Regions from separate parts of the Homo sapiens genome. Here all the other regions are linked to region 2. Evidence: promoter capture Hi-C in 16 types of primary human blood cells and fetal thymus (Javierre and others, 2016). All regions are on one chromosome and are shown on one strand. The core of a region is centred on a gene start or on the middle of the fragment in contact, and the rest is flanking DNA. Distances in the headings are between cores, read along the strand shown. Region 1 has its middle 4.5 kb from the start of PDCD5. Region 2 holds the start of CCNE1 (cyclin E1). Region 3 overlaps DPY19L3 (dpy-19 like C-mannosyltransferase 3). Region 4 holds the start of LINC00662 (long intergenic non-protein coding RNA 662).

Region 1 (2,838 bases), core at 50-2,549, 2.8 Mb before region 2:
TTGTTGAAACACATTTTTAAGTAATTGTCTTTAAAAAGTCTGTGATAGACAAATTTTCTATATTGTCATATGTCTAAATATTTAATTGACCATAACACTTGACTAATTCATGGTTGGTTATAGACTTTTGGATAAAATATTTTCCCCTCAGAATTACTTTAAATTAAAATATAATACAAAATGTTATTTTTAATTTACCCTTCTAACTTTGTTATATATTAGTAATTTGTAAAATTCCTTACTTTACATTGTGAAAACCATCAAATCTATAAAAATTGGAGGAATAGTACAAAGAACGTGTATATATCTTTCCCATACATTCATTAATCATTAAGTTTGCCACATTGACTTTATATGTCTACACACACATACATACGTGTGTGCATATGCACACACACACACACAGTTTTTTTGAACCATTTGAAGGTTTCAAATATGTCAGTTCACTCCTAAGTGTATATCCTAAGAACAAAGATATACTCATATATAATATAATTATTGTACCCAATACATTAATATAGATAAAATAGTATCATCTACTTGATGTAGCCCACATTTGTCTCTCCAGTTATTCAAATAACCTTCACCACCACTGTTTGTTTTCTTGTCAGTTCGTGATCCAGTTGTGTTTAGTGTCCACTCCCTTTGGAGTATAAAGGTACATCTCATCTGTCTTCTAGCATTTGGTGTTCGTGATACAAAAATCTGATTCCTATTCCTTCGTGAGTGGTGTTTTTTTTTTTTCTCTTTCTGAAAGCTTTTGGTCAAGTGTGATGACTCACAGCTGTAATCCCAGGACTTTGGGAGGCTGAGGTGGGAGGATCGCTTGAGGCTGGGAGTTAGAGACCAGCCTGGGCAACATGATGAGCCTAGTGAGAACCCTCTCTCTACAACAACTTAAAAATTAGGGCATGGTGGTGCATACCTGTAGTCCCAGCCACTTGGGAAGCTGAGGTGGGAATTGCTTGAGCCTAGGAATTTTCCTGGGTGAGAGTGAGCCCCGAAAGAGAGAAAGAGAGAGAGAGAGAGAGAGAGAGTGAGAGAGAGAGAGAGAGACAGAGGGAGGGAGGGGAAGAAAAGGGGAAGGGGAAGGGGAATGGGAAAGGAAGAAGGAAGGAGGGAAGGAAAGAAAGAGAAAGAAAAAGAAGAGAAAGAAAAGTTTTAGAATCTTTCCTTTTCCTCCCAGGATTCTGAAATTTTGCAAAGGTTTGGGCCTTTTAAAAGCCCTTGTCCTGTTTGCTTGGTAGATTCTTTTGATCTGGAAACTTCTACCTTTAACTTTTGGGCAATTTTGTTTTGTTGTCCATTTGATACTTTTTTCCTCTTTGATTTCTATCTTTCTCTATCTGGGACAACTGTAAACTGGGCCTCCTGGATAAATCTTTCATATCCCTTTTCTTTCATGTCTTCCATCTCGGTCTTTTTGTCCTACTTTATGGAAGGCTTCTTCTGTTTTATCATCTGACCTTTCTCTTGAATTTATTTAAGCCATTATATTTTTATTTTATAAGAACACTTTCTTGTTCCCTTATTGCACCGTTTAAAAATTTATTTATTTACTTATTCTCCTTACTCTGTTTATGCAGCATTATCATGCTGTTTGCGTACTATCTTGTTCTTGATTTTTGAGTGTAATAACTTCTTAAATATTGTTATAATAATAATTGGAAACCAATTAAACATCCTCTTTCATTTCCTGAGTTAGTCCTCTTTCTTTTCAGGTTGTTTTTATACCTGATTATTTTTCTTGGCCTCTGTTGTAAGGGTACCCAGGATTTGTTTAAATTAGATATGCGAAGACATACAGGCACGGAATTGACGGTCATGAAGGAAAAAGCTTAGATTCACAGACCGCCAGAAACAGGAGGCAGGGCACACCACACAGGGGCCAGGGGCAGTCACGAGGCAGAGGGAAGAGGGTAAAAGTGGACGAGAGCCTTTTTTGTGAGTTCTGTGAGAAGGAACAGGTGAGGCAGATACGCAGGCTCAGGATTGGCTAGTTTGAGTAATTTTTGTGGGCTCTGCTTCTAATAGTCTGGTACTGGGCCCTGGGGTGACTAGGGCAGAGAAATAGTTGCCCTGAGTGTAACAGCCCTGTGAGGGCCCTGAAACGGAGGTGGTTGGGGAATGACTTCTGGATTGGCTGGTGTGCATCTGAAAGCTGTGCTCACAGGAGAGTCACTTACTATCTTTAGGATGTGGCTAGCCCTGGGAGGGACCATCCCTCCAGGGTCAGCAAGGCCCCAAGATGTCAGAGCATCAAAAACAGAAACTAGAAAATGCATGGTGCATAGATACCATGGAATACTATGCAGTCATAAAAAAGAAAGAAATTATGTTCTTTGCAGCAACATGGATGCAGCTGGAGGCCTTTATCCTAGGCAAATTAACACAGAACAGAAAACCAAAAATTGCATGTTCTCACTTATAAGTGGGAGCTAAATCTCGGGTGCACGTGGACATAAAGATGGAAACAACAGACACTGCGGACTCTGACAGTGAGACGGAGGGAGGAGGGGAATAGTTGAAGAACTCTCTGTTGGGTACTATGTTCATTATATAGGTAACAGGATCAATAGAAGCCCAAACCTCAGCATCATGCAATACACCTGTGTAACAAACCTGCACGTGGACCCCTGTATCTAAAATTTTAAAATAAGAAAACATGGTTATTATAGTCTCTCCCACATGCCATAGGCTGTCATTAGATAGTTGGTGGTCCTTGATTAGCCTGTTCATTTTTTTGGGCGGGGGGTGGGGAATGGAGTCTCGCTCTGTTGCCCAAGCTGGAGTGCAGTGGTGCAATCTTGGCTCACTGCAACCTCTGCCTTCCCGGTT
Region 2 (3,153 bases), core at 420-2,919:
CATTACACTGAATGTTCCACTGATACTCTTGCTGAGGTCAGGCTGAGCTGGGGATCAATGCAGGTAATTGCTGGAGGGGCTATAAGAACTTCCAGGGCCAGAAAGAGGAGAAGAATTTGAAATCTGACCTACAGAAGACGGAGGAGGTCCTTAAACACCATGACAAGAAAAATAGGTGTAGATAGGGGGAAAGTTGTTGCTTATAAACACCCAGGAACCCTCCCCCAGTTCACCAGCTTTTACAGACAAGGCCGAGAGCCCAACTTTGCCCCTGGATGGCACAGGACTCTGGGTTACTTTCTTCCTCTAACTGAGTCTCAGTTTCCTCCTGGGCAGAAGGGGAGGACTGAATACTGTGATGTCCATTCTGGTTCTTCCAGGCTAGGCACATATCTGTAATCTCAGACGGTGCCAGTCAGGAACACCAAGCTTCCTGGAATCCCAGGACTGGCAGAGGCCAGTGCCCACTGACAGGTACAGTGCTGGGCCATATGGGCTGTGGCTGCATTAGAGAAGTTCACTCTCACCAGAGTGTCTCCAGCAAGAGACAAGACAGCATGAAACCCCATGTGACCCAGGGGGAGAAGGACCTCCACAGAGGCCCAACCCCGGGCGGACCTACCTGGCTCCCACACTGGTCCCTCGCCGTCCTGTCGATTTTGGCCATTTCTTCATCTGGATCCTGCAAAAACTAACATGAAGCCACCCCCATGACCCCAAGGAAACACACCAAACAAGACAAAAACAGAGAGAAGAAGAGAAAGCTGATCAGGTTATGAGCTCCGTTCCTGCCCAAGGGACCCCCGCCCCCGTAGGCAGAGCCAAGTCGGGTACCCAGGTGAGATGGGGGGGATGCTCCCCAACCTGTCTCTTTTGTACTCACAACGGTCACGTTTGCCTTCCTCTTCCTGGAGCGAGCCGAGAACTCCGCGCCGCCGTCCTCCTTCATGGTGTCCCGCTCCTTCGCATCCCTGTGGACCCGGGTGGCACCGGGCCGGGTGAGCACCCGCGGCCGCCCCTCCCCCACGCCACCCGTCCCGTCCCGTCCCGTCCCGTCCGGCCCCGCGGCGCGGGCACTCACCGCTCCCTGCGCTCCCTCGGCATGATGGGGCTGCTCCGGCCTGAGGCCTGCGGGGCGGCGCGGGGTGAGGCGGCGGCGGGGTCAGGCCGCGGGCCCAGTACCCCTTCCCCCTTTGCGCGCGGGCGGCCGGGCGAGCCAGGAAGATGGCCGATGGCGGGGTGGCCTGTCACCCGCGACCCGGGCACCCGCCGACCCCCGACCCGGGGTCCCGCCGCCCCCGCCGCCCTCACCGGCCCGTCGCCTCCCGGGGCCCGGGCTGCCTCAGTGTCCCCTCCACCCCACCCCGCCGCGCTCTCAGCACCCTCCCGGGCGCCCCGCGACGCCGCCCGGGGACCCGCGACCCGGCCGCACCCCGCCCCCACCCAGCTCCCCGGCGCGGTCTGGGCCCCAGGAGTCCCTGTCCGCAGCCCGCGGCAGTAGACTCACCAGGGTCTTGTCCGCGGCGGACGGCGCGCTCCAGTCCCGGCAGGCGGCGGCGGCGACGGCAGTGGCGGCGGCGGCGCCGGGAGTCGGCGGGCCGAGCGCGCGGCGGTGGCGGGATCCGCGCCTGCCCCCTACACCGCGCTGGCGGCCGCGCCGGCTGCTCCTGCGCCCGGCTCAGAGCGGGACATTTAAAATCCCTGCGCGCGGAACCGGCCCCGGCCCGCCCTCGCACCGCCCCGCCGCGGCTCCCAGCCCCTCAGCGGCCGCGCGGGACCCAGAGCCCGTCCCGCCCCGTCCCTCGCCCCGCCCCCGGACCCGCCCCTCCACGGCGCCGGCCCGCGAGGCGCAGGGACGGGGAATCAGGGGCGGGGCCGGCGGACAGGGCGGGGCCAAGTGACAGGGCCTGCGCGCCGAGGGCCGGGCGCGGGGCGCGGGGCGCGGGACGCGGGGCGGGGCGGCGGGCGGGACGCGGGAGAAGTCTGGCGCGCGGCGGCGAGGGGCGGGCCGCGGGCGCCGGGGGCGGGGCCGAGCGGCGCTGGAGCGGCAAAAAGCCGCGTGGCTGGCGCGGGTGGAATGTAAACACGGCGGGCGGCGCGGGTTCGGGCCCCGGCAGGGCTGAGCCAAGGGGATGTGTGGGGGGCCTACCCGAGGAGCACCGCCCGCCGTTCCTCCGCGCGCGCTGTCCCGCCAGGCACGCCCTCCCCGCCCCCGAGACGCCGAGTTCCGGGCCCTGAGTCCTGGGCGGGGACATCCCCAAGGTCACCGCGCCTGTGCCTTGGCCTAGAACCAAGGCTTCAGGCCGCGGGGTCTGGGGCTCCCTGGGGGCCGGCTGCTATTCCTGGCCGCCTGTCCATTCATCCGTCAGTGCATTGGGTCGTTCATTCATTCATTCAAGGAATCTGTGAGTTCCTTCCATGCGCCCCTTCCATATGCGCCCCTCCCCCGCAAGCCCTTCCTGGCTCTCTGAAGACCTTTCTGACTCTGGGATTCCCTTGCACCCCATCTCTCACTTAAAGCCTTCCAGTTGAGGCCGGGCGCGGTGGCTCACGCCTTTAATCCCAGCATTGTGGGAGGCCGAGACGGCTGATCCCTTGGGGTGTTCGAGACCAGCCTGGGTAACAGTGAGACCCCCATTTCTACAGAAAAAGAAACAAAAAGCCTTCCAGTTGTTTCGCATAAGGGTCAAATCCACACTCCGTGTCCTAGGCTACAGGCTCCACAGGACCTGACCCTGATCCCCCACCCTCAGACCTCAGGCCTCCTCTCCACAGCTCCTCTGTCCTTTCTCCCTCAAGACTTGTATTTTTTATTGTGGCGGGGGGTGGGGGGTGGCAGGTAGGGATAGGGTCTTGCTATGTTGCTCAGGCTGGTCTCAAACCCATGAGCTCAAGCGATCCTCCCGCCTTGGCCTCCCAAAGTGCTGGGAGCCCAGCCCCTACACAGTCTTGGTGCCTCTCTGTTTCTTGTCTCTCTCCCCACCTTGCCCATCTTGCTCACTGCTGTATCTGTCAGTTCTTGGCATAGTGCCTGGACCAAGGGAGACACTTAAATTGTTTCTGAATGAACATTTGAAAGACAGGCACTGGCCAAGCCCTTGCAGGGCTTACCGGCTAATGAGAGAGACAGGTAAGGAACAGTCATCACCTCAG
Region 3 (3,119 bases), core at 484-2,983, 2.6 Mb before region 2:
TTCTGTTTTTTTTTTTTCCTGTTGTAGCCAACAAGAAAAAAAAGAAAAGGAAGTACCTTGTATACTGTGACCCAGTTTGTGCATATATATATATATATAAAATTAAAAGTTTCACAAAACAATCCTCAACCCTACTAGATGTGATAGTATTCTTTCTTTTTGATTTCATTAAGAAAAATGTTACTCATGACCTACTGCACTAATTTCACAATCTATAACTTGAAAAATACTAATTTAGAATAACTGCTAAATAAATGGAATAAGTTAATGAAAAAGAAAAAACTCACTTGATTATAAAAATTCTGGGCTGGGTGCTATGGCTCATTCTCATATTTTGGAAGACCAGGGCAGTAGGATCGCTTGAGCCCAGGAGTTCGAGACCAGCATGGGCAACAAAGTGAGACCCTGTCTCTACAAAAAAATCAAATTTAGCTTGGTGAGGTGGTGCATGCCTGGGGTCCCAGTGACACAGGAAGCTTAGGCAGGATACTCACTTGAGCCCAGGAGGTTGAGGCTGCAGTGACCCATGTTTGCACCACTGCATTCTAGCCTGGGTGACAGAGCAATACCCTATCTCAAAAAATTAAAATGAAAAATAAAGATTCTGGCTGGACGCAGTGGCTCACGCCTGTAATCCCAGCACTTTGGGAGGCTGAGACAGGCAGATCACAAGGTCAGGAGTTCGAGATCAGCCTGGTCAATATGCTGAAACCCCGTCTCTAGTAAAAATACAAAAATTAGCTGGGTGTGGTGGCACGCACCTATAGTCCCAGCTACTTGGGAGGCTAAGCCAGAAGAATCACCTGAACCTGCGAGGCAGAGGTTGTAGTGAGCCAAGATTGCGCCACCGCACTCCAGCCTGGGTGACAGAGTGAGACTCCATCTCAAAAATAAATAAATAATAAAGAAAAATTTAAAAAAAGATTCTAATATGTTATTTTAAAATAATAAACACAAAAGTTATTTCACTCTATAGTCCAACCTTTCTAGAGATTGGATTCTTTATGGCAAAACTGTGTTGCCTTGGTCATTCATCCACATGGCTTACTACTGGAGATCCCACTGAGTGAATGATACAATGGTCAAAGAAACTCCATACCTTAATATTAGAAAACCATAAATCATTTTCATGTAACGTGGCAAGGTAGACAGATGTAAGAAGTCCAATGCAAAGGGCAATGGTTCCACCAATTGTCAATGACAAAATCTTCCATAATCTTCTACTGGTACAACCTTTTGGAAAAATGGAACAGATAAATAACTAAGTCAGTAAAAAAATCAGAATGTAATAGTTCTACTTCAGATTATCAAGTAAGCTAAGTCTAGCTGCCTGTCACTGGGAAAGCTTTTCCTGTCTCCAGCGGAGGGTCCTTTCTGATTCCACAGACCTGTTTTCATTCTATTACAACTGTTACCCCGTATCTAACTGTCCATGTGTCCATTCTGCCAACTACAACGTGAGCTTCTTGAAGACAAATACATTATCTTATTCATGTTTAATACTGAGGGCCTCTGTCCGGCACAGTTTAACAACCGTAATTTAACTATGAAGTCTGTTAAATGGATGACTAAATGTGTTACGTGTCTAGGACGTAATCGATCTTTTAGATAATCTAGGTACAATTGGTGGCTTATTCTTTAAAAGCTATTTTAAAAACTTGATTACCTAAAAAATAATTATTGTTTTTTGAGACAGGATCTTGTTCTGTTGCCCAAGATGGAATGCAGTAGTGCAATCTCGGTTCACTGCAACCTCTGCCTCCTAGGTTCAAGCAATTCTCCCACCTCAGCCTCCTGAGTAGCTGGGACTACAGGCACATGCCACCATGCCTGGCTAATTTTTGTATTTTTAGTAGATACAGGGTTTCACCATGTTGGCCAGGCTGGTCTTGAACTCCTGACCTCAAGTGATTCACCCACCCAAGCTGGGATCCTAAAGTGCTGGGATTACGGGCATGAGCCACTGCACCTGGCCGATTACCTAAAACTTTTTTTTTAAACCCACAGGTTTTGCAGGAATGCTCTGGGGGGAAAAACCCACAGAATAAATAATCCAACATAACTCAAGTTAAAGGACATATAAACTAGGCAAAATATGGATAGCACATATAAGAAAGCTTAAATACCCTTAACATAAGATGAATACTTTCAGGACAATTTATTTTATTTCAGGACAATTTATTGTCCTGTCAAGATGAATACTGCAGTAGGAAAAAGATTAAGGACATGAACAGGCAATGTACAATAGAAAAAAGTGGCCAATAATAATAACAGACTGAAGATGTTTAAATTCATTAATGTTAAAGAAATGCAAATCAAAACTGTGAGTTATACTTAAATCTTGGCCAATTTGACAGCTTTCAAAATGCTAATACTGTTTTGGTAAGGGTATAAAAAATAGACATCTTCAAACATTGCTGCTAGAAGAATAAATTGGTGCCTCTCTGGAATGCAACATGGCAGCAGTGAGTAAAAGCCACCAAAATGAGCATCCCATTTGGCCAGTAATTCCCAATCTAGGCATGTACCCTGCTGTGGTTTGACTATTCGGCCCCTCCAAATCTCATGATGAAATGTGATTCCCAATGTTGGAGGTGGGGCCTAATGGGAGGTGGTGTGGTGATGGAACCAGAGCCCTTATAAACAGGTTGGTGAGATTCTAGCAGTACTGAGTTTTCATTCTGTTAGTCCTAGGGGAGCTGGTTGGTTAAAAAAGAGCCTGACATCCTGTGTTCCCTGGAAATTGCTTCTACTCTGGTCATGTGATCTCTACACACTGGCTCCCCTAAGTCTTCTGCCACGACTGGAAGCTTCCTGAGGTCTCACTAGAGGCAGATGCTGGTGCCATGCTTCTCATACAGTCTGCAGAACCCTGAGGCAAAGAAACCTCTTTTCTTTATAAATCACCTAGCCTCAAGTATTCCTTTATAGCAACAGAAATGGACTAAGACATGCCCCAAGGAAATAAAGTTTTAAACAAACATATGGCCACAAGGAAATTGATCACAGTTCTGTCTGTATTAGCAAATGGTAAGAAAACCTTTCACTTCTACAGTGGCAGCTATAAAAATACTTTACATAGATGATATTTCAAAAATACGTTAACTGGCTTATGACAT
Region 4 (2,841 bases), core at 328-2,827, 2.0 Mb after region 2:
TATCAGAACTAGTGGGCCACACAAAGCCCTGGAGGACTCTACAAACCCAGGTCCATGGGGAGCAGCCCTGTAAGGGCCAGATGGCTGGGTGGAAAAGCTGACCAAGTCTTCCTTCCTTTCAGCCAAATCTGGAAGAAAGGCACCTTGCCTAGAGCAGTGTTCCTGGTACCCAGGCCTCTGTGGGCATCCTTCAGCACAAAGACCCTCTCCAAGGGGGGATGGGCTGGCCCTCCCAGGACCACCAACCCACTTCCAGAAGCCCATGGGTCATCCCCACCTTCACCTGACTGGGCTGTCCCTGACGCTAAGGCCCAGCAGCACGAAGGGGATTCCACACAAATCAGGGCAGTAGGCTGCTCTCTGGCGGCACTGGGGGCTTAGGGTCTGGCCAGCCTGTCCCTGGCTCAGGACACATGCCTGGAAATTAGGGTTTTCTCCTCTGCTCTTAGCATCTCCTGGGTAAACCAATAATTACTCTCCCTCATGTCTCAAAATTCACATCTATCTAAAAGGCGCTAGTGAGGGTGACATTTCCAGGAAGCCATAGCCCATGTCACCCCCTGCAAAGCTGTGACCTTTTCCGCGGGCAGGCCAGGCGGCGGAGTTCTCCCAAAAGCGGATGAACTGGCACTCTGGCTGGAGAAAGCAGAGAGCAGCAGCACAATGGACAGCGTCTGGGACCTCAGGCCGATTCCACAGCAGCTTAGGAAAGCAGGAGGCCCCCTGGGCGGGAGGAGGCTTGATGCTCTGGAGGGAAACGGAACTGAGCAGCGGGAGGTGGGGTGAGCCTGAGACCCGACCGATTTTGGCAAAGGCGAGGCGCACTTTGCAGTATCATACTCTCCTCACTGCCCAGCCCAGACCTGCCCTTCAAGTCCCTCTATGGACTCACTCCCCTTAGCCAGGGGTGGCACAGATTCAGTAGCCAGCATGGGTTTGGAAACAGAGGTCAACACCGCCCTGCCCCTCCCTGCGGGGCTGCGCAACACCCTTGAACCCTGCGCATGCTGAGACTGTAGTCCCATAGCCCTGCGACCAACGGCCGGAAGCAGCTAAGACACTATTACCAGCATGCCCGGCAGGAGGGCACCGCGCTGCCCCCCCCCCTCAAGGGACCAGCATCATCCCCACTCCCGTAGCATACTGGGATTGTAGTCCCGCAGCTCTGCCACCAACAGCCAGAAGCAGTTAAAAAACTGTTCCTCTCAGCATGCCCTGCAAGGCGCGCACCGCTGCTGTACCTCCCTTAACGTATCCGTAACCTCCCTCAACGTATCCGTACCTCCCTCAACGTATCCATACCTCCCTCAAGGTATCCGTACCTTCCTCAAGCTATCCGCACCACCCTCTCTTCCATTTCATGCGAAGATTGTAGTCCCGCAGCCCTGCGACCAGCGGCCGGAAGCAGCTAAGATGCTACTGCTCCCAGCATGCCCCGCGAGGCGCGCACAGCACAGGCCCTCTCTCAAGGTCACCACCTCCACTCCCGTTGTATGCTGGGATTGTAGTCCGGCCGCCCTGTGACTAACGGCTGGAACCGCCTAAGACACCACCCCAGCCAGCATGGCCGGCAGGAGCGCACCGCGCTGTCTCCCTCCAGGGATCCGCACCGCCCTACAATCCTGCTTTGTGCTGAGATTGTAGTCCTGCAGGCGTACAACTAACAAGCTGGGTGCAGATAAGAGACTACAGCTCCCCGCATCCCAAGCAAAGGTCCCTCCTCTACGGAGCCCCTCCACGCGTCCACTGCGGTTCCGCCGTGCCAAGGGGAGCTTGGCTGTTCACGGGCCTCACCTGCTAGCGAGAAGATAGCTTGGCCGGGCGGCTGATCTCACCTTGTAATTCTGACACTGTGTCTCCCGGGCTTGTCGGCTTCATGACTTGTGCCCAAAGTTTGATTTCTCGCAGACCAGGTAAAAGCCAAGAGGCTCTCATAGGCGCCTTGGCAGAGTTGCCATTGGAACGGGCGTCCTCTAGTAGCTGGGATCTCCCCGCCCCTTCCTCCTGAGGGGCCACTCCTTTCTGCCCCACCCTTCTTATTGCCCCACCCTTTGCCACACTCCTTCAGAGATGCGCAGTGCTGCCCCTTTCTATGGGCAGGGCCGAAGGTCCGCGTGTAAAAGTACCCAGTCCCTGGTAACCTGACACTTCCCTTTTAAAAGCCACCTTTTGTCTATCTCTGGCCTGCCACGATTCTTCCTGTGCTCCATAGGAGGACCCATTGGACCCCCGGGCTGGCTGCAGGGCCCACACCTGGGTTAGACCTCGCACAGGGACGCTGCTGCCACTGTAATAAAGCGTGCCTACACGCTTCTGAAACTGGTGTAGGAACAACCTCAGTTCTGTGAAAGGCGGACGCAGCAGGACAGAATCTCCGTGGACATCTGTCTGGAGGAGCAATTTTACTGCGACATTTTAAAGAAACAAATTTAATTGATTTCCAAGGTAAGAAATTAAACCTTGAAAACTAAACTGAAAAGTCATCTGTGTTTGACAAGTCAGACTTTCTCCAAGAAGAAAACTAAGGAGTGCATATTTTCCATTATTATAAATAGTGAAAATGAGAAATCATAGCAACTCCCTGGAAAATCTTGCTCTGCCAGTTTTCTAAATCACAGTAGGGCCTCGATATGGTTTTATTTGTTTTTGTTTTTGTTTTGGAGTGTGTTCACCTTTTGAATATAAGAATTTGCGGTTTTGACCAAGTTTTTAAATTTTCAGCTATTGTTTATTTGTTTTTGTATTATATTTAATTTTTCTGTCTCTCCCTCTCTGTCTCAGACTCAATCATTTCACAGGTCTCTTAGGCCTCTTTTCATTTTCTTTAAACTTGTTTCAGTC

Evidence for each region. The method cuts DNA at HindIII sites, captures the fragments that hold promoters and counts their contacts. A CHiCAGO score of 5 or more calls a contact.
Region 1: a fragment that was not itself captured here is called in contact with the fragment with the promoter of CCNE1 in region 2 in 1 of 17 cell types (total B cells); the score reaches 5.5 in total B cells.
Region 3: a contact is called between a fragment that was not itself captured here and the fragment with the promoter of CCNE1 in region 2, in 2 of 17 cell types (activated CD4 T cells and non-activated CD4 T cells). The highest score is 5.8, in activated CD4 T cells.
Region 4: a contact is called between a fragment that was not itself captured here and the fragment with the promoter of CCNE1 in region 2, in 2 of 17 cell types (naive CD8 T cells and total CD8 T cells). The highest score is 5.7, in naive CD8 T cells.

Annotation. Positions count from the first base shown.
Region 1 is chr19:32,575,266-32,578,103 of GRCh38, reverse strand. No RefSeq gene overlaps it. Among named protein-coding and RNA genes, the nearest start is that of PDCD5, 4.5 kb to the left of the region's middle. The HindIII fragment of the contact is 1,080 bases long and covers 760-1,839 here.
Region 2 is chr19:29,810,507-29,813,659 of GRCh38, reverse strand. CCNE1 (cyclin E1) reads right to left here and starts at 1,669. Exons shown (of 12, transcript NM_001238.4): 1 at 1,508-1,669; 2 at 1,082-1,128; 3 at 884-971; 4 at 623-691. The coding sequence starts at 1,104. RefSeq lists a silencer at 1,586-2,215. The HindIII fragment of the contact is 7,130 bases long and covers 432-3,153 here.
Region 3 is chr19:32,409,353-32,412,471 of GRCh38, reverse strand. It overlaps DPY19L3 (dpy-19 like C-mannosyltransferase 3), which reads right to left. Exons shown (of 19, transcript NM_001172774.2): 3 at 1,100-1,233. Among named protein-coding and RNA genes, the nearest start is that of DPY19L3, 5.1 kb to the right of the region's middle. The HindIII fragment of the contact is 772 bases long and covers 1,348-2,119 here.
Region 4 is chr19:27,792,604-27,795,444 of GRCh38, reverse strand. It overlaps LINC00662 (long intergenic non-protein coding RNA 662), which reads left to right and starts at 1,505. Exons shown (of 3, transcript NR_027301.1): 1 at 1,505-1,913; 2 at 2,213-2,445. It overlaps LINC02987 (long intergenic non-protein coding RNA 2987), which reads right to left and starts at 2,014. Exons shown (of 7, transcript NR_146733.1): 1 at 1,836-2,014. RefSeq lists enhancers at 1-126, 1,293-1,772. The HindIII fragment of the contact is 5,184 bases long and covers 1-2,841 here.